2 separate regions of the Homo sapiens genome follow, and region 1 is linked to region 2. The links are contacts of gene promoters, found by promoter capture Hi-C in human tissues and cell types (Jung and others, 2019). All regions are on one chromosome and are shown on one strand. Each heading gives the region's core, a stretch centred on a gene start or on the middle of the fragment in contact. The rest is flanking DNA. Distances are from core to core; before and after follow the strand shown.

Region 1 (4,132 bases), core at 1,493-3,992, 1.3 Mb before region 2:
TGTATCTTTTAACACAAATAATATTTACTCATCTCAACCACAATTGCTTAATCCTCTAAAACTCCTTGCACGTCATAAAAACCTTTTAACTGTTATTTCACTGTACTGTAATTATCTGTTTACACGACTCTACTAAGACTGCAGGCTGTCTGAAGGTAAGTGGCCATTCACTTTTGTATTTCAGTGCTACGGGTTTGTCAAATGACTTTATGTAGTATTTTTATGTCTATATCCTGCAAAGAATTTTATAGAAGAAAATTAAATTTAGAGGTTAGGTAATTAGGCTAAGATCACAGAGCAAGTGGGTAAATGAAATCAGAATTCAAATGCAGGTCTTCAGTCAACAAATTGTATACGTTTTCCACTATCTCATACATATTACCACAAGTAAATAACAGCAAGTTGTATACAAACTATGTTCTGTGGTTAAAAAGCACCAATTTGACCATAAAAATGAATCACAAAAACTACAATTGTAAATGTCCTCTAAAAATGAGATCTGGCTGGGCGCAGCTCACGCCTGTAATCCTAGCTGTTTGGGAGGCCAAGGCGGGAGATCACCTGAACTCAGGAGTTTGAGACCAGCCTGGGCAACATAGCGAAACCCTGACTCCACAAAAAATACAAAAACTAGCTAGGTGTTCTAAGGTGAAGGATAAGTTTAAAAAAAACAAAAACAAAAACAAACTAGCTGGGCATGGTGCGTGCGCCTGTAGTCCCAACTACTTGGGAGGATGAGGTGGGACAATCACTTGGGCCCGAGAGTTTGACACTATAGTGAGCCATGTTTGCACCACTGCACTCCAGCATGGGTGACAAAGCAAGACCCTGTCTCAAAAAGAAAAAGAAAAAAAGATCAGCTGGGCACAGCAGCGGACACCTGTAATCCTAGCACTTTGGGAGGCTGAGGCCAGTGGACTGCTTGAGCCCAGAAGTTCAAGACCAGCCTGGGCAAAAAGGCAAAACTCTGTCTCTACAAAAAATACATAAAATTAGCTGGGCGTGGTGGTGCACACCTGTAGTCCCAGGTACCCAGGAGGCTAAGGTGGGAGGAACACCTGAGCCTGGGAGGTTAAAGCTGCAGTGAGCTGTGACCATACCACTGCACTCCAGCCTGGGCAACGGAGTGAGAACCTCTCTGAAAATTAATTAGTAAATAAATAAATACATGAATATATAAATAAATAAATAAATAATGAGATCTTTGGGCCAGGCGCAGTGGCTCACGTCTGTAATCCCACCACTTTGGGAGGCAGAGACAGAAGGATCACTTGAGGCCAGGAGTTCAAGACCAGCCTGGGCAACATAGTGAGACCCTGACTCTACAAAAAATAAAAAATTAGCCAGGCATGGCAGCGTGTGCCTATGGTCCCAACTACAGGAGGGAGGCTCACTTGAGAATGGGAGGTTGAAGCTGCAGTGAGCTGTGATCACACCACTACACCCCAGCCTGGTGACACAGTGAGACCCTGTCTCAAAAAAAATAAAAAAAAAAAAAAGATATCTTTGAATTTAAAGATGGCCATTAAATGTACAAAATTCAACAGTGGACTGAATTAAAAAAAAGTATATATACATCATGGAATACAATGAAGCCATAAAAAAGAACAAAATTATTTTCTTTGCAGCAACATGGATGCAGATGAAGCCATTACCCTGAGCAGACAACAGAAATACTGCATGTTCTCATTTATAAGTGGGAGCTACACATTTAGTACACATGGACACAAAGAGGGGAACAACAGGTACTGGGACCTACATGAGGGTGGAGGGTCAGGGGGGTGGGAAGAGGGTGGGGATTGAAAAACTACCTATGGGGTACCATGCTCACTACCTGGGTGATGAAATCATTTGCACACCAAACCCCAGCAACATGCAATCTATCCATGTACCAAATCTGCACATGTACCCCCGGAACCTAAAAGCTGAAATAGAAATAATAAACAGGACTGTCATACAAAGGTATACAAAGCCACTACAGTCTCAACAAAATACTGCTGTAAGTATTTAAGAAAAGATTTTACCTTGTACTTCTCTATCATGACATTCTTTTAGTTTTGTCCAAAGGTCCTTAAAGTCACTAGATGTATCTGCAGAGTTAGGGCTTCCACAGCTGCTTCCCGAGATGTTCATCTTGCTTAATATGCTCCACACTTCTACTTGCTTAATATTTTCTGACCTTTTCTGTTACATTATAGAGGTATCAAGTCGTCTTTGGACAGGTCAAATACCTGAAATGACAGATTGCAACATAAATGAACTTTGCATTTATCTTTATGTACTTTGAAATCAGGATGAAACACAAGCCCAGATATCCTCATTTACCATTTCCTTATTTACCTATAATCAATCATTTTTAGAATTTGGGAGGGGAAGGAAAGAATAAGGAAAGATGATAATGGTGAGAAAAGTTCTGATTTCAGTTATTTGGCTATATGAGGTAAATTTTCAGGCAAATTTTCTTATTTCTCTTAGAGGAAGAAATTATCTCAATTATATTAAACAGAAAGGATTCAGATATTGAGGGGTTTTTATCATTCATGGTCAGTATTAATTTACCACTATAGACTAATGTATTGTTTTGGCTGGGGGAGATGGCTCTTGCCTGTAATCCTAGCTCTTTGGGAGGCTGAGGTGGGCAGATCACTTGAGGCCAGGAGTTTGAGATCAGCCTGGCCACCATGGTGAAACCCCATCTTTACTAAAAATACAAAAATTTGCCAGGTGTGGTAGTGCGTGCCTGTGGCCCCAGCTACTCAGGAGGTTGAGGCAGGAGAATTGCCTGAAACTGGGAGGCGGAATTTGCAGTGAGCGGAGATCGTGCCACTGCATTCCAGCCTGAGCGACAGAGACCCTGTCTCAATTAAAAAAAAAAATTGGTTTTTTTAACTTTTGAATTGGTGAAACATACTGAGCCCAAAACTGAAAAATATTCTTAGTCTTGACTTAACAAGCATCCACATATATACACATATCTATATATATTTTATAAAAGAGACAGTTGACTGATGTATTAACACAGATGAGGATCTGTATAACTTTCCAAAAACAAGAGAAGTCAGTAAGATTTAAACACAGCAAAGATCTATGAATACAGAAACATCTTAGAGTCATAAGACAATTAGGGTAATGTTACTTCATGCCTCTCTTAGAATAAAGGTGAATCATTAAGTTTATTACATAGTCCTTGAAGAAACCAACAGGTTAAGAAGTTTGAATGGATTAGTAAATATTTTAATATGTGTTCTTAAAATGAAACCATTAATTAGCTACAACTTAAAAAGTAATAGTGATCAGCAAGTCTACTAAACCTCACATCTGGCTCCTTAGCCAAAGCAAACTGATTGTTTCCTGCTAACCATTTCCTGAGGTCTCTGACAAAGGGGCTGAAAGAGTAATTCTGAAGGGAGCAGGAGTATATGTGAAGCCACTTGGTGAACCGTCAAGAGCTACAAAAATAAACTATCAAGCTTTGCAAAAATTGTGATTAGACTTTTAAAAAATAATCCAGAAACTAAATATGAGCTGGATTTTAGATATTAGGAAATTATTAATTTTCTTGGGTATGATAATGATGCGGTTTTGTTTGTTTTTTTTTTAGAAAGGCCTTATCTGTTAAAGGGATATTTACCGAGATATTTACAGGTAAAGGGATATACTCTGCGATTTGCTTGAAAAAAAAAAAATCCAGCAAAAACAAACAAAAATGGATGTTGGGTGAAGAGATGAAACAAGGGCTGAACTTCAACAATTTCTGAAGCTGGGTGGGTGCGTATACAATGGGGTTCATAATTCCAGTATTTCTCTTGTGTACATTTATTTCTGTAAAAAAGTTTTTAAAAGTAGAATTAGGTGCACTGCATTAGTTTTGTTACCAAAGAGGTTTTTATTCTATCTTTAACTCTAACAGATAAACAAATGGGCCTATATATAATTGTGAATAAAAGTCACCATTTGTTTCCCACATACCAGAAACTATAGAATATTAATATTAATATTTGTATTTATATATTATTTAATATATAATTATATATTATAGAATATTTATATTCTACCTAACCTTCAGAAAAACTCTGTAAGACAGCTACTATAATTTCATTTTAGAGTTGGGGGAAGAGGCGTAAGGCAGTAA
Region 2 (4,468 bases), core at 1,596-4,095:
CCAGCACTTTGGGAGGCCGAGGAGGGTGGATCACCTGAGGTCCGGTGTTCCAGATCAGCTTGACTGACATGGTGGAACCCTGTCTCTACTAAAAATACAAAAAAATTAGCTGAGCGTCATGGCGGGCACCTGTAATCCCAGCTAATTTGGAGGCTGAGGCAGAATTGCTTGAACCAGGGAGACGGAGGTTGCAGTGAGCCAAGATCACGCCACAACACTCCAACCTGGGCAACAGAGCAAGACTCTGTCTCAAAAAAAAAAAAAAAAAAAAGAAAATACAGCATAAATTGCAGGCATGAATTATGTATCGAAAATACATGATTTATTTCGTTTCTTGTTTTTTTAAGGCCACTGGCTGGGATCAGACACCAGGGTCAGCAGAGCAACAAGCTGCTATGGCCTAGGCTCCTGGCCGGAGGGCTATGATTTCATATGGTCTGATATTTGCACGAATTCCTATGCTCCTGATTGAGGCCAATTTAGCACATAGAGTGGAATAGACTACTCAGAAGCAGAGGCCTATTTTGTGAGAATCGACACTCATAAATATGGTTTCTTTGTATGCCAGAATTTGAATTACTATAGACAAAGTAGTTTATCCAACCAAAAGAAGTCCCACCAGTTGTCTGGCAATCAGAAGACGAAGATGAAGGGAAACATAGGTCAGGTCTCCTGATAAATAACCAGCTTTTAACCAGACCAGTAGTTTACTCCTGTTCCCCCGCCCCACCCCCCGCCCCCAATTTGAGCTGTTTGGCATATGTCATTAAAGTGTGTATCAGGGACTGGAGCTGAAGGTGGAAGCAGCGGACAGGTCTTTGCCAAGTAACACAACTATGGTAATGTGAAGAATGGCCTCACCCATCAATACCTCCCAAACAGCTGGGATTACAAACGTGAGCCACTGCGCCCAGCCTCGTTTTTGTTTTTAAGCCATAACATCTCCCTGCGCAAACTGACAGGCAGCTCACTATTCGTGGAAGATGAATTGTCAGAAAAACATCAGGTTTGACAAACTTAGAGCACATTTTGGTTGTACTTGGCTTCAAAGAAGGAGGGCAGGAAGGGGAAAACCCATTTATGATCACCTCTTCCCATTCTGAAATGCAGAAGTACCGAACTAGCCTCACAGTTCCGCAAATAAGCAAAGGGTAGCACAGAACATATGTTCAAAAGCAGTCTAGTAGCCGGAGCAGTGGCTTAGGCCTGTAGTCCCAGCGCTTTGGGAAGCCAAGGAGAGAAGAGAGGATCACTTGAGGCCAGGAGTTCGAGATCAGCCTGGGCTGGTCTCAGTGAGACCTTATCCCTACAAAATATAAAAAAATTAGCCTGGCGGCCGGGCGCGGTGGCTTACGCCTGTAATCCCAGCACTTTGGGAGGCCGAGGCAGGTGGGATCACAAGGTCAGAAGTTCGAGACCAGCCTGGCCAAGATGGTGAAACCCCGTCTCTACTAAAAATAAAAAATTAGCCGGGCATGGTGGCAGGCACCTGTAGTCCCAGCTACTCAGGAGGCTGAGGCAGGAGAATTCCTTGAACCTGGGAGGCGGAGGTTGCAGTGAGCCGAGATCGTGCCATTGCACTCTAGCCTGGGTGACAAGAGTGAGACTCCATCTCAAAAAAAAAAAAAAAAATTAGCCTGGCATGGTGTCGTGGGCTTCATACATGCAGTTCTCAGGGAGGCTGAGGCAGGTGGGATCGCTTGAGCCCAAGTCGAGGCTGCAGTGAGCCGTTACTGTGCCACTGCACACCAGCCAGGGCTACACAGCAAGATCCTTCCTGTCACAAAAGAAAGAAGTGTGGGAACCATGAATCCTAGTGATAGAATCTTGGATTCTATCTCTAGAGGCGTCCAAGAGCGAGCCAAAGCTTTGTCTGAACACTCAGTCTGACTAAGTCTAGCAGAATATTTTACAATTTCTGATGATTCTTGCACTCTGATACACAGGAAGAAAGTGTGCAAGGAGAGGGCGAAGCCCTGCATTTTTTGGAGGTGCTGGAGGGCAGTGTAGGGACTGCACCCTCCTTTTTTTTTTATTTGAGACAGGGTCTCACTCGTCCAGACTAGAGTGCAGTGGCCCAGTCTCAGCTCACCACAACCTCCGCCTCCCAGGCTCAAGGGATTCTCCCGCCTCAGCCTCTCGAGTAGCTGGGATTACAGTCGCACGCCACTACCACCCGGCTAATTTTTGTATTTCTAGTAGAGACGGGGTTTCACCATGTTGGCCATGTTGGCCAGGCTGGTCTCGAACTCCTAACCTCAAATGATCCACCCGCCTCTGCTTCCCAAAGTGCTGGGATTACAGGCGTGAACCACCGCGCCCGGCCCCACCCTCCTTCTTTACATTGGCTCATATGGAAGACCAAAGGCACTTGGATTATACATCGCAGACAGAAGCAGCCAAAACCTACATGGCAACCAGTTGCGACAAATTTCCAAGGTAAACCACAACCGCTGGGGGCCTGGGTGGTTTTCAGCTCAAAGCGATGACCCCAGGAACGACAAGCGGCCGCCGCTAGGGGGCGCCGCCACTTCCCTGCCAGGCGACCACCCGCGGAGGCGCGCGCGCTAGGCCTCCCACCGCGCCTGCGCTGAGGATGGACACTAGCTCGCCTTTCCTCGACGCCCAGCCGTCCGGGCCGGGGTGAAAAACTGCGTGACACGCAGTGAGCGTGGCGGCCATCTTCGTCTTCTGGGCACGTCAGCTGAGCCGGTTAGGGCTGAAGAGGAGCGTTGCGCAAGCGCACCCAAGACGGTCACAGGTAACTCCCATCTGACGAGCGAGGCGTCGCCGTCGTCGCCGGAAGTTTGGTGTTTGCGCCGCGGGGGAGGCGGCGGCCGCAGCAGAAGCAGCTGAGTGTCTCCTGATACCCGGATGTGAGGCGATCCGCTGGCGCTAGTCTGACCCTCCGCCAGGCAAAAGGAAGGTACGCGAGCGTCCCTGACGGTCCCCGCCGCCTGTGTCTTCACCTCTCTTTTGCCAGCCCCTTCAGGGAGCGGACAGTTCTCCCTCTTCCTGTTCCACCCTCGGTGGCGTGTTGCCTCGCACGCCCCTTCCTACTGCTCCGGTCCCAGCTCTTCGCGCCCCTGGGAGGGAGGTGGGAGGCTCTAGGCTCCAAGACGCCGTCGCTTGAGGTAGGCAGCTAACGTGCTCGCGTGTCCGCGCACCACCTGCCGCTGTTTGCTGGGCGGTCGAAGTTCATAAGGGGTCGTGACCGCCGACGGGGCAGGGCCGGAGTTCCCAGCACTGCCGCGAGGGCTCCGGGAGCCCCGAGGTGGCGCGCAGCCATTGCTAGCACCGGGGCAGCGCCAGTGCTGGTCCCGCAGGTAGCTCCGGGCCCCGTCTCCGCCCCCTGCGTTTTCTCTTCCCGGCGCTTCACCGGAGCCAGTCCCTCGCCGCCTCCTGGCGCAACCCGCTGACCCGGCCTGAGCCTGGAGGCCTCTGCAGTTTGCGGGGCGCGATGTGGGGTCTTGGTTTTACAGCCTTCAGTTTGGGAGGGGAGCGGGCCCAAGGTCATAGAGTAACTCATGCTGCAAATGGGGGTCTCGGCACAGGTAGGGCGGCTCTGGAGTAGAAATGAGTGCATTGAGGGCCGCAGTGAAGTTTATAGCGATGGAGAGAGGCGAACCAAAGAGAATTGGGTCCTCGATTTTTATCACGGGTTAAGATTATTTTACTATGGGGGTTTATTTTGCACAGGCAGAATGGGATAGCAAGTCCAACAATTCGAAGACTACCTCCTCTCCCTCCGCCTCTCAATGATGCGTCCGAAAATCCGGCGTGTGCTTTATTTTCCGGGGCGATGGGGACGCAGCGGGGACCAGGGGAGGGAGGAAGAGGAGGAGGAAGGAGCTCAAGCTTTGCGATTTGAGAAGTACTATGAACCATGTTTTCTGTAGTCTTAGCTGCAATGAGATTCCTTTAAACAGGAATCGCAGCACACAGTATCTAGATAGTATTACAAAACGATATCTCAATAAATAAGCTTCGCAGGAAACAAAAGCGCTACTTGGTGGCATAAGGTGTGGTTAGTCCCCCCACCAGCATTGGCTTTTTTAAAAAAGTGGATAAAACATAGATTTCAGTTGAAAACATCCAGGTTGCAGTGAACTATGCTATATTCACTTTGTCTTCTGGTCAAGTACTTAGTTTCTGCTTTACACAGGACACCAACACGAATAAAGTTTTAAGTTATTATTTTATTTTGAGACGGGGTCTCGCTCTGTCGCCCAGACTGGATTGCAGTGGTGTAATCACTGTTCACTGCAGCCTTGACCTCCCTCCCCGGCCCCAAGCAATCCTCCCACCTCCGCCTCCCTGAGTGGCTGAGACTACAGGCGTCCGCTACCATGTTAGGCTAAGTTTTCTATTTGTTGTTGAGACGGCGTTTCGCCATGTTGCCCAGGCTGGTCTCGAACTCCTGGGATCAAGTGATCACCTGGGCCTCCAAAAGTGCTGGGATTACAGG

What was found. Contacts are between HindIII fragments. The study calls those that stand out against the background at their distance.
Region 1: a fragment that was not itself captured here is called in contact with the fragment with the promoter of ESCO1 in region 2 in 1 of the 25 tissues and cell types used here (dorsolateral prefrontal cortex).

What each region holds. Positions count from the first base shown.
Region 1 is chr18:22,934,853-22,938,984 of GRCh38, reverse strand. RBBP8 (RB binding protein 8, endonuclease) reads right to left here. Exons shown (of 19, transcript NM_002894.3): 2 at 2,025-2,231. The coding sequence starts at 2,133. Among named protein-coding and RNA genes, the nearest start is that of RBBP8-AS1, 3.2 kb to the right of the region's middle. The HindIII fragment of the contact is 4,679 bases long and covers 403-4,132 here.
Region 2 is chr18:21,599,081-21,603,548 of GRCh38, reverse strand. It overlaps ESCO1 (establishment of sister chromatid cohesion N-acetyltransferase 1), which reads left to right and starts at 2,845. Exons shown (of 12, transcript NM_052911.3): 1 at 2,845-2,926. RefSeq lists enhancers at 1,216-1,295, 2,620-3,139, 4,207-4,468. The HindIII fragment of the contact is 11,871 bases long and covers 1-4,468 here.